Linked DNA regions of Homo sapiens: region 1 is linked to region 2. Evidence: promoter capture Hi-C in human tissues and cell types (Jung and others, 2019). All regions are on one chromosome and are shown on one strand. The core of a region is centred on a gene start or on the middle of the fragment in contact, and the rest is flanking DNA. Distances in the headings are between cores, read along the strand shown.

Region 1 (7,015 bases), core at 2,540-5,039, 810 kb before region 2:
ACCCTTCAGAAGATCTAGGGCCCAGGGCCTGCAGTGAAGTTTTAGGGGTTACATGGTGGAGTAAGATTCCTTTTATATTGGGTACATTAATGGACAAAATCCAGTAATATCCAACTCTGAAAACAAAAGAGAAATCCAAACATCTGTGGGTCTTTTAGGATATTAGAGAGCATTTGTCCCACCCTTAGCCCAATGTTTGAGGCCACTATATGGACTTATTAGAGAAAGGAAACATTGAGACTGAGACACGTCACAGCAGGGAGCTTTGAACAGGCTAAAGTGCTAGTATAGCAGGTGCAAGCCTCAGGCACCCCTTTAGAGGGAGTAGAGATGACTTTGGATGTTACTGCTACTCCTGTGGGCAGGAGTTGGGCCTTATGGCAACCACGGTATGGTAAATCAATCCCTTTAAGATTTTGGTCACAATTACGGAAAGGAGCGAAGCCAGATACTGAAAGGAAATTTTCCCTGACCCCTTCACAGGCCTCATGACAGGGGTGCCTTGCTTACTCAGCCCACAGCTCTCAACCCCTTGTGGGATGGGAAGCATGCAGGTGAGCTCGTGTAAGAGCCAGGGAAAGTGCTTTAGGGTGCTGGCAGGAGCAAAACTCTGTGCGTGCCCCAAGGCAGCATCTAAGGAGGATAAAACTCCCGTGGGCCCCCAAAACCCCAGGGCATGCATTACAGTGAGCTCTTTTAGCTTTACTGCCCGAGGATGGCTTAAGTAAGTGTTTAACAGCTCAGTGAACCTTCTGCCTTTTCGTGAGGGCAAAGGGTCAGTGTGACAGCCTTTTTGTATTCCGAGCTCTTGTCCAGCATCCAGGAAAAATCAGATTGCACGAACGAATTGAAGGATAACAAATGCAGGGGATTTTATTGCCGATGGAAGTGGCTCTCAGCAGGAAAGGGAGCTGGAAAGAGGAAGGAGCAGGAGAGTATTCTTCCCCTGAAGTCTGGCCATCTTCAGCCAGACTGTTCTCCAAAGTTCTGCCATCAAGCCATCCCTCTGAAGTCAAACTGCACCTCTCCAATGTTCAGCTGCTTCTTTTCTTCTCCCCTTCTCTGCTCTCTGCCAGTGGAGCCTGGGGTTTTTATATGTACAGGATGGAGAGCATGGCGGGCCAGGGGTGGTTTTGGAAAAGGCAACATTCGATCAGGAAAACGGGGATGTGAAGTTCTCACTTTGGGCTGCGGTTCCAAGCTTGAAGGTGGGGCCCTCGTCAGGGACTCCACTTCTTCTGCCTAGAATTTATCTGCCTCCTGTCCCTATCAGTACTCTCCCATTGAACAAGTGCTAGCAGTGTATGCTTTACAGAAGGTGGAATAATTAGCAAAGACCCTTCCCATGACTGTGAGAACTGGTCTACCAATCAAGGGATGTATAGAAGGATTATTTAAATCACCCACCTCCGTTTAAATCCCAAACACCTATCTTGAATAAATGGCATGCCTGTTTGCAACAATGAAGTGTCCTGGTAACCAATCCCTTAAGCCGAGAATTGCATGCTGTGTTAGGCCTTGTTATATGTGAGCAACCAAAGGACATCCCTTTGCCCCTTCCTACCCCAGTGTGTGACTCGATAAGCAAAGGAGTGTTATGCATCCCTGATCATGCTTGGTATACAGATGGCTCCAGCAAGGGAAACCCCTGTACTTGGACCGCTGTTGCTATATGACCACAAACTGATACAATCTGGCTTGATATAAGTACCCATCACAGTAGACAGTGGGCTGAGTTGCAAGCTGCTTGGTTAATAATCACACATAAGCCCTGGCCCCTGGCTCTTTGTGCTGATAGCTGGGCTACATTCAAAGGCCTAATTATGTGGCTAGCCCAGTGGCAACAAGAAAAATGGGTGTTTATGCACAAACCCATATAAGGCATGAACATGTGGCAAGACACATAGAGAAGCTGCAACACCTTGCAGCTGATGAAATAGTTGGTATTTCATGTAGTGGTACACAATAGGACTCAGTTCCAGGAAGTATAGAAGCTGACACCCTAAGAACAATTAGAAGCATTGTGCTCTGTCCCAGGCCAATAAATAGAGACCTGTGTACATAACAAAAGTAGTAGTCATAGAAGTGCAAGAGTAGGCTTGGAGATAGCCAAGAAGGCAGGATTGCCCTTAAAATATACTGACCTCCCAATAGCTGTTAAAAATGTTGATATGGTTTGGCTCTGTGTCTGCACCCAAATCTCATGTTGAATTGTAATTCACACATGTCAGGGGAGGTGGCTGGATCATGGGGGCGGTTCCCCTATGCTGTTCTCATGATAGTGAGTGAGTTCTCATGAGATCTGATGGTTTAAAGGTGTTTGGCAGTTCCCTCCTTGCTCTCTTTCTCTCCTGCCACCATGTGAAGAAGGTCCTTGCTTCCCCTTTGCCTTCTGCCATGATTGTAAGTTTGCTGAGGCCTCCCCAGCCACATGGAGCTGTGAGTCAATTAAGCTTCTTTCCTTTACACGTTACGCAGTCTTAGGTAGTTCTTTATAGCAGTGTAGAAACGGACTAATACAAATGTATACCACATTCTTGATTCCATCCACACTATATACCATACCATGCAGGACACACTCATAGGGCTGTCTACCCTATAACAGATCAGCAAATGAATTATATAGGGCTTCTTTTTGTAAGTCAAGACAAAAAGTATGTATTGGCCTGTGTAGATACTGCTACTGAACTGCTGTAAGTTTGTCCTTGTAAGTGAGCTAATCAAGCCAGTACTATTAAAGGTTTAGAGGCTCTCAGTACTATGTATGGATATCTTTGACACATTGACAGTAACCAAAAGACCCATTTTGCTGGACATGATGTGCAGGACTGGGCCACGGAACACAACAGATCATGGCATTTTCATCTCCCATGTAACCTCCAAACAGCAGGGTTCACTAAAAAGAAAACTGGTCTTCTGAAAGCACAAATTCAGTTTCCTGGGGAGGCTGAGCATGGTGGCTCACACTTGTAATCCCAGCACTTTGGGAGGCTGAGGTGGGAGGATCGATTGAGGTCAGGAGTTCGAGACTAGCCTGGCCAACATGGCGAAACCCCATCTCTATTTAAAAAAAAAAAAATACAAAAATTAGCTGGCCGTGGTAGCACACACCTGTAATCCCAGCTACTCTGGAGGCTGAGGCAAGAGAATTATTTGAACCTGGGAGGCAGAGGTTGCAGTGAGCCAAGAGCATACCACTGCACTCCAGCCTGGGCAACAGAGCGAGACTCTGTCTCAAAAAAAAAAAAGTTTCCTAGGGAAACCTACAGTATTAATCCGTTCTCACATTGCTACAAAGAAATACCTGAGACTGGGTAACTGGAAAAGAGGATTAATTGGCTCACCGTTATACAGGCTATGCAGGAAGCACAGCAGCTTCTGCTTTGGGAGAGGCCTCTGAAAGCTTCTGATCATGGTGGAAGGCAAAGGGGGAACAAGCATCTCACATGGCAGGAGCAGGAGCAAAAGAGAGTCAGAGAGGAAGTGCTACACACTTTTAAACAACCTGATCTCACAAGAACTCACGCACTATTGTGAGGATAGTACGAAGGGGGTGGTGCTAAACCATTCATGAGTAATCCACCCCCTTGATCCAATCACCTCCCACCAGGCCCCACCTCCAACATTGGGGATTACAATTTGACATGAGATTTGGTGGAGATACAGATCCAAACCATATCACCTATCACCTACCTTGCTAGAGTGGATGAATGTGTGATCTGCAGGGCTTATGTATTTAACTTCAGCCAAAGCAGGATGCTTGCTCCATATGACTTGTTGGGACCACCGTACCCCAAGCCTACCACTATTTGCATATGGGTAACTGAGAAGACCGCTTTGCTCCCAGACCTGATTGACAACCAGCATATTTTGTGCATAACAACACTGACAGATATACTGTCAGGGGAGAGGACACTGCACTGGGGCTTAGAATGGCAAATACCCCCAGGCTGGATAGGCTATTTCTTGCCATAGATGGGGGAATATCCTCAACAGTTAGAGTGGTTCCCATTGCTCCTATTGAATACTGGACCCATGATCACCCGCTATAAATGGTTAGGGGAAACAGTATTATAAGCGAACTAACACAGGAACAAAAAACCAAATACTGCACGTTCTCACTTGTAAATGGGAGCAAAACATTGAGTACACATGGACACAAAGAAGGGAACAAGAGACACCAGGGCCTACTTGAGAGTGGAGGGAGGGAGGATCGAAACACTACCTATAGGATACTAAGCTTATTGCCTGGGTGATGAAATAATCTGTACGCCAAACCCCTGTGACATGCAATTTACCTATATAAGGAACCTGCACATGTACCCCTGAACCTAAAATAAAAGTTTTTTTTAAAAAAAGAAGCACAAATTCAAACTTTCCTGGAGAAACCTACCTTGCAAAGGTGGATGAATGTGTGATCTGAAGCCCTTATTTCTTTAACTTCAGCCAAAGGGATGAGGTGCCTGCCCCATGTGATAGGTTGGGACCACCATTCCCCAAGCCTACTATTTTTCACATACGGGTAACTGAGAGGACTGCTTTACTTTCAGACCTAGTTGACACCCACCATATTTTCTGCATGAAGACAGTGACAGACATTCTACCAGAGGAGGGGACACTGCACTGGGGCTCAGAATGGCAAATACACCCAGGCTGGATCGGCTATTTCCTGCCAGAGATGGGGGAATATCCTCAACAGTTAGAGTGGTTCGCATTGATCTTATTGAATACTGGTCCCCGATCACTCATTATAAATGGTCAGGGGAAGCATATATACCCCATGGCATGGTGGTGAGCTCTCTAATATGGTGTACTCTCAATCAAATTACTTTGACCACGGCTGCTGACACTTCATCCTTGGGCAACATGGTTGGTATATGGCCCCTTTCCCTTTACAAAAGCCAAGAGCTGACTCTATACTAACTACTCTAAATGAATGGACTGGTGTATTCTGACAGATGGAAAATAAATTTCCTTGCAAATACCCACTAAGTTTGTTTCCTTTCATCCTTAGTTGTCATGTTCTGTCAATACTATCACTAGCTGCCACCTAGGAAGCAAACCTTTTCCTACAATGGGCCCAAGAGTATGCTGTTGGCTTACAGAAAAACATCTGTTGGGGCCGGGCACAGTGGCTCACACCTGTAATCCCAGCATTTTGGGAGGCTGAGGCAGGTGGATCACTGGAGCTCAGGAGTTTGAGACCAGCCTGGCCAACATGGTGAAACCCCGTCTCTACTAAAAATACAAAAATTAGCCGGGTGTGGTGGCAGGCGCCTGTAATTCCAGCTACTCAGGGGGCTGAGGCAGGAGAATCGCTTGAGCCCAGGAGGCGGAGGTTGCAGTGAGCTGAGATCACGCCACTGCACTCCAACCTGGGCAACAGAGCAAGACTCCATCTCAAAAAAAAAAGAAAGAAAGAAAAAAAGAAAAACATTGGTTTGGTATGCGGCCTCATGCCACTCTCCCATGCTTCTGGCCTGCCGTGGTGGGTATCTCCTTTCCAAGGATGAGATTGGAGAGACTATATAACACAAATGACCAATTTCTCAGACTGAACCCCTGCGTTGAATGCTGTAGTTGTTACTGGCTTCATAGCTGGCTTCGGTCCTGGGGCACCTGGTGGCAGAAGCTGCTTCTTGGTTTAGGTGTTGTGCTCCTATGTTCCTTACTGTCCTGGTTTTGCCTTTACTGTTGCTGCAGCATTTTCCTCCAATAAAGCCAATGAGCTGCTGCTATAGCTATACAATATCAAGCACCCTCCCTCTAGACCCAGGGACTATCAAGGAACAGGTGGGCACGTGAGATTGCAAGGACCAGTACTGAGGAGTGGAGTGTAGGTATACAGCCTGCTGCATGGCCAGAGTGATTTCATCTTGAAGGGAAAATATCATGATGACAGATGTTTGACTCCCGCATACCAAGGTATTTGGCAACAAGGTCTTTAAACATTGGCCGTAGCGTAGATAATGTCTCATAAAGATGCTTATCTAACCTCTCCAGTGGTCAAGAGTTTCTGCAAGAAAGTGTGAGACATGGCCAGGTGCTCATGTTTAGCATAAAAATTTTCTATAGAAAGTAAACTTTCTGGAGGACGGGTGTGGGTTCCACCCTCTTGCAGCCACTGGACACATAGCTTCTGTTCAAAGGTCACCATTAATTGTTTATTTCTGAGAAACTCGATTTGTCAGCCTCTTTCTTTGGCCTCTCAGTGCCCTTGGCCTTTGAGGGTAAGTTTACATAGAACTGCTCACCACGGAACAATACCAATGTGCCCAATATATTGTCTTTCTTTCTAGAGCAATTACTACAACAGTAGGAAATAAAATGTTACAAGGTGTTGTCTTTCTTTCTTTCTTTTTTTCTCTCTTTCTTTCTCTCTTTCTCTCCCTCTCTCTTTCCTTTCTTTCTTTCTTTCTTTTTTTCTTTCTTTCTTTCTTTCTTTCTTTTCTTTCTCTCTTTCTTTCTTTCTCTCTTCTTCATTTCTTCCAACACAGAGTCTCACTTTATTGCTTAGGCTGCAGTGCAGTGCTGTGATCTTGGCTCGCTGCAACTTCCGCCTCCTAGGTTCAAGTCGTTCTCCTGCCTCAACCTCCCGAGTAGCTGGGATTATAGGTGCCCACCACCATGTCCAGCCAATCTTTGTATTTTTAGTAGAGACGGTGTTTCACCATGTTGGCCAGGGTGGTCAGGAACTCCTGACCTCAGGCGATCTTCCCGCCTTGGCCTCCCAAAGTGTTGGGATTACAGGCGTGACCTACCATGTCCAGCCTGCTGATCTCTTTCTGATGCATTCTCTCCATCCCCATCTCTCTAAACCCTCTCTAACAGACTCTCAGACTTTCCTCTCCCTCCTACATTCTCTTCCTTTTCTTTTGTCTCTCTCTGCTCCTCACCTCTTGACTAAAGATGTTGGCGGCTGCATCTCTAGCCAATGTCCAAATCCTAATACTACAACAAACATGGCCAGTGACATCTGCCTTTAAGCACTTGTCACAGAGGTCACCTGTGCATC
Region 2 (5,701 bases), core at 13-2,512:
GATGACTCTTTGAACGACACAGCATTTCCACAGAGGAGCTCCAGTTGGGTGGGGTGGAGGGTGGAAGACAGAGGCCATGTTTGCAATCCCTACAAAATCCCAGATACAGGAGCCAGGCTCGGCACATAGTAGGTGAGTGGGCACCAGAATGAATAAGTGCACGTGACTGGCAGCTCCAAGCAGTTTTCAGAGCAGCCTCCCTTGTGGGCAAGATAGCTAACCCCACACCAACCCAGGGAAGGCCTGGACTCACAACAGGGGCATTGCGGAAACCCTTGATGGCCTGGAAGACTCCGCCACCGATGACACCCATAGTGAAGGCTCCACCGCAATCATCCACAATTCGCCATGGGCTGCAAGCAGGAAGGGAAGGACGGGGTTAATGTGAGCCCTCCCCCAGGTCCTGTCACACGAACTCTTTTCTAACTGGGAGAAACCAAGTCACCAGAATGGGAAGTTCCTAAGTAGGAACAAACACTTCAGATAATAATGAGCTAGTTCTGTCACGCTTTTTCCACACACCCCCCCATTAAAGCGAGAAATGGGGCAAAGGGGGAGAAATATTAGTCTTCGCCCTGTCTACCAACCAAGGAATCAGCCAACGGTTTTACTGTGATCAAAGATTAAATGAATTGGCACACGCAGAGTTGACGTTTCAATAAGCGACATAGGCGTGTTAACTAGCCAAGACAGACTGTCAGCAAAGCAGGACCGCGTCGCACCCCTTCTCCGACGGTGAGCCCGTCCAACCATGCCCCGCCCCTTTTCAATCCGGCACAACTGGGAAAAACCAAGAGCGACCGCGGGAAGCATCCACCGTCCCCGCCGGCCCTCAACAGGTTCATCCGTGCCCCGCCCCCCACTGACAAAGGCGACCTGGGAAAAACCACTGGCGGCAACTCTGGGGATTTCCGGTCAACACCGTACCACCCCTAGCCGGGATGGATCGTCCAGCGTGTCTTTTTTCGTTAACAGGGCTAGGAGATTACGAAGTCAGGAGAAACATGGCGTGGTTCGGCCTTCGCCGCACCTTCTCTGGTTGTGGCCCCTCATAACGGAGCCCGAATGACAGGAACCGAGTGGGGGTAGCGGGAGATACGTTAAGAGTCCCCCGAGTCTGGTACATGGCTCTGTGCGGCCGATGCCTCCCCCGCCCGACCCCCACGGCTGGCCTTGGCGTCGCAGCAATATTCCGGATGCCTGTGCCCATTGCCGTACCAGGGCTCCCGAGCGTACTCCTCCATGGCGCTGGCGTCTGGCCGCGCAGTCAGGCCACGCCCCCAGCGTAGACGCACACCGGCGTCGGAGCTTTCCGCCTATTACCGGGCAGCGATTGGGTCGCTATACCGCATGTCACGCCAAGGACGCACTCTCATTGGCCAATCGAGTTTCTGCCATTTGTTCATTGCCTCCTGAGCGTAGTCCAGTTACTTTCAGGCTCGGGGAGTGAAGGCCTCGTTGAGAGAAGGTCTCATTCGGTGTTTTGGGAAGAGAGTCGTGTGGGCCCAGGTATCGTAGCGGCGACACGAGAGAGACGGGCGGTGTGACAGCCTTCCACTACCTGCACGAGTGTATTGGTAACGTTGGGGTGGGTGCACTCTTTTGGAGCTGGAGGAAGTGCTGCCCTCTGCTCCCCCATCCCAGCGCTTTGGTTTCTCCCACCCGGCAGTCATGGGGACGCTGGATGAGCCCATTTCTGAAGTGCGGAGGGGCCGGGCTTCTTAGGCTGTGGGCGGAGCCTGGGCCTGGGAGAGGAACAGGGCCCTGGAGCACCTGGTTTCGGGGACAGTAGGGTTGGTGGGAGTTGCGATGATATTGCCACCTACCTCTTACATCTTTTAGTGCGTATGTTCTGTCCACCCAGCTACTGGTTCATTTGAGTAGATCGGAGTCAGATGAGTACATGTTTACGGGAGGCGCTTGGTTACGGGATCCAGATAGGAATCTTTATCTGAGCTGCTTGTCAGTTTGTTCGTCTGTCCCTAGGTCTGTCTGCTATCAGCTATGCCGCTGCCCGTTGCGCTGCAGACCCGCTTGGCCAAGAGAGGCATCCTCAAACATCTGGAGCCTGGTGAGACAGCTAAAAGCAGATGGTCCTAACACGTGCCAGCCTCGACAGGCACTTTTGTTGTTGATACTGACGCTTGATACCTAGCATGGGCCAACTGTGCACCAAGCAATGGGGTGGCAGGCATTTTTCGTTGTTAACAATGTGGATTCCTGACATCCATCCCTACCGCGTGTCAAGTGGAGGGGGTTGGGGGAATAGATATTTCATTCTTTTTTTTTTTTTTTTTTTTTTTTTTTTTTTTTTTTTTTGAGGCAGAGTCTTATTGTGCACCCAGGCTGGAGTGCAGTGGCGCGATCTCGGCTCACTAAAACCTCCGCCTTCCAGGTTCAAGCGATTCTCCTGCCTTAACTTCCCGAGTAGTTGGGACTACAGGCACGCCCCGCCCCACCACACCTGGCAATTTTTTTTTTTTTTTTTTTGAGACAGAGTCTCGGTCTGTCGCCCAGGCTGGAGTGCTGTGGCGTGATCTCGTCTCACTGCAACCTCCGCCTCCCGGGCTCAAGCGATTTTCCTGTCTCAGCCTCCCAAGTAGCTGGGATTACAGGCACGTGATACCACACCCGGCTGATTTTTGCATTTTTAGTAGAGACGGGTTTCACCATGTTGGCTAGGCTGGCCTCTAACTCCTGACCTCAGGTGATCCACCCCCCACCCTTGGCTTTCCAAAGGGTTGGGATTACAGGCATAAGCCACTGTGCCCGGCAGATATTTCATTCTTAACAATACTGACTGGCTGGGCGTGGCGGCTCAAGCTGGCATTCCCAGCACTTTAGGAGGCTGAGGCGGGTAGATTGCTTGAGTTTAGGGATTAAGAGATTAGCCTGAGCAACATGGCAAAACCCCGTCTTTACAAAAAATACAAAAATTAATCGTGTGTTGTGGTGCATGCCTGTAGTCCCAGCTACTTGGGAGGCTGAGGTGAGAGGATCTCTTGAGCCTAGGATGTCAAGGGTGCAGTGAGCCGAGATTGTGCCACTGCACTCCAGCCTGGCCGACACATGGAGACCCTGTCTGAAAAAAATCCAAAAAAAACAACAAAATAATACTGACCACCTAATGCCTATTTGGGGCCTACTGTATGCCAAGTTAAATCCCATGGATTACTCTATGGGGGTGATGACATAGTATCTAATAGGAAGTACTGCTAACCTCTACTGCTGTCTCCTGTGTGCCAAGCGTAGTTGCAGTGAGGATCTATCATTTAGGCCTACTGTGCTCTGGCTGCAAATCACACCTTATTATCAGTAATACTAAAAACTGGCATCTATTTGGGGCTATAGTGTGCCAGGCACTGGAAAATATATCTTCTCCTTATTGATAACTGACATCTATTACAAGCCTACTGTGTGCAAGGTATAGACCTTGTGGTTAATAAAATTGTCAATGATCCCAGGCCGGGCAGGGTGCCTCATGCCTGTAATCTCAGCGCTTTGGGAGGCGGAGGTGGACGGATCACGAGGTCAGGAGATCGAGACCATTCTGGCTAACAGGGTGAAACCCCATCTCTAATAAAAATACAAAAAACTTAGCCGGGCGTGGTGCCAGATGCCTGTAGTCCCAGCTACTCGGGAGGCTGAGGCAGGAGAATGGTGTGAACCCGGAAGGCGGAGCTTGCAGTGAGCCGAGATCATGCCACTGCACTCCAGCCTGGGCAACAGAGAAAGACTCCATCTCAAAAAAATAAAACTGGCAATGATCATTGATTTACTTTTTTTTTTTTTTTTTTTTTTTTTTTTTGAGAGAGTCTCGCTCTGTCACCTAGGCTGGAGTGCAGTGGTGCAGTCTTGGCCCACTGCAACCTCTGCCTCCCGGGTTCAAGCGATTCTCCTGCCTCAGCCTCCCGAGTAGCTAGGACCACAGGCGTGCTCCACTGTGCCTGGCTAATTTTTGTATTTTTTAGTAGAGATGGGGTTTCACCATGTTGGCCAGGCTGGATTTTCTTTTAAGCCTATTGAATGACCTGTGCCTATGGTATATATATTATTTATTATTTGTTTAGAGACAGGGTCTCACTCTGTTGCCCAGGCTGGAGTGCAGTGGCACGATAATAGCTCACTGCAAGCTCAAAGTCCTGGGCTCAAATGAGCCTCCTGCCTCAGCCTCCTGAGTAGTTGGGACTACAGACGTGTGCCACTGTGCCCAGCTAATTTTTTTTTTTTGTAGAGACAGGGGTCTCACTATGTTGACCAGGCTAGTCTCACAGACGGGTTTTCACCATCTTGGCCAGGCTGGTCTTGAACTCCTGACCTCGTGATCCACCCACTTTGGCCTCCTAAAGTGCTGGGATTACAGGCATGAGCCATCACGCCTGGCCAAGATGAGTAAATTTTTTGATGAATCCCTATCAACTCTGAAACCAGATAGCTTTGGCTAACAGTAGAACTCATCATCTGAACCCAGACACAGATTTAGGTAACCTTTTTTTGTAAACCTCCTAATATAGAGAGTTGGATTTGGAATGTGAAAGATACTTCATATTCTTCCCGGCACACACACACACGTGTCTTTTATGTGTGGCTTGTGTGAATGTGAGTGCGTGTCTCTAGGCTCTACATGTAGGATGAGGTCCCCTGGTCCTTATCTGCTCTCCTCATCCCCACCTTGTTCTACCAGAACCAGAGGAAGAGATCATTGCCGAGGACTATGACGATGATCCTGTGGACTACGAGGCCACCAGGTTGGAGGGCCTACCACCAAGCTGGTACAAGGTGTTCGACCCTTCCTGGTGAGCCTGGGTGAGGGGGAGCTAACTTCTGGCTTCACCCTTCCTGTGCTGACCTTGGTTGTGAGGTTTAGGGGGACACAAGGGAGGGAGCCTCGGGTGGAGGGTGTTGGCATTAGGTATCTGCAGGACTCAAGTTGCTGCCTGCTGGGGCCTGGCTCCTCTGGGGTTGGAAGACTGTCTTTTCTCTCTTTTTTGAAACGGAGTTTCACTCTTGTAGCCCGGGCTGGAGTGCAATGGTGTGATCTCGGCTTATGGCAACCTCCGCCTCGTGGGTTCAAGCGATTCTCCTGTCTCAGCCTCCCAGGTAGCTGGGATTACAGGTGCACACCACCACACCCAGCTAATTTTTGTATTTTTTGTAGAGATGGGGTTTCATCATATTGGTCAGGCTGGTCCCGAACTCCTGACCTCAGGTGATCCGCCTGCCTCGGCCTCCCAAAGTGCTGGGATTACAGGCATGAGCCACCACGCCCAGCTGACAGTGTTTTCTCTTCAGGAGAAGAGATTCTGGGGATCCTGCCTGTGGGGTCCTGACATGGGGCAGGTATAGGCAGAGACTGGGGAGACAAGAGTTGAGGATCCAAGGCAAGGACATCTGTGCTGACACTTCTTTCCTGCGGCCCCACAGCGGGCTCCCTTACTACTGGAATGCAGACACAGACCTTGTATCCTGGCTCTCCCCACATGACCCCAACTCCGTGGTTACCAAATCGGCCAAGAAGCTCAGAAGCAGTAATGCAGGTGAGTTGGCAGGTACAAGCGTGCCTTGAGTGATCTTAGCAGTTCTCACGGAGAGGCCAAGTAGAATGATAGTGGATCAGAGGGGCAGGTGAGACCAGGCGGGCCCAGCCTCAGGCAAGGGAGGTTGTTGAAGGCAGAGGCTGCTGGGTCCTGGGGTGGCAAGA

What was found. Contacts are between HindIII fragments. The study calls those that stand out against the background at their distance.
Region 1: a fragment that was not itself captured here is called in contact with the fragment with the promoter of TIMM17B in region 2 in 1 of the 25 tissues and cell types used here (lymphoblastoid cells).

What each region holds. Positions count from the first base shown.
Region 1 is chrX:48,084,369-48,091,383 of GRCh38, forward strand. No RefSeq gene overlaps it. Among named protein-coding and RNA genes, the nearest start is that of ZNF630, 16 kb to the left of the region's middle. The HindIII fragment of the contact is 3,925 bases long and covers 1,828-5,752 here.
Region 2 is chrX:48,896,506-48,902,206 of GRCh38, forward strand. It overlaps TIMM17B (translocase of inner mitochondrial membrane 17B), which reads right to left and starts at 1,263. Exons shown (of 6, transcript NM_001395498.1): 1 at 1,219-1,263; 2 at 254-353. The coding sequence starts at 1,244. PQBP1 (polyglutamine binding protein 1) reads left to right here and starts at 1,425. Exons shown (of 7, transcript NM_001032382.2): 1 at 1,425-1,577; 2 at 1,987-2,071; 3 at 4,685-4,796; 4 at 5,425-5,537. The coding sequence starts at 2,005. RefSeq lists enhancers at 779-928, 959-1,158, 1,449-1,818, 1,869-2,088. The HindIII fragment of the contact is 10,729 bases long and covers 1-5,701 here.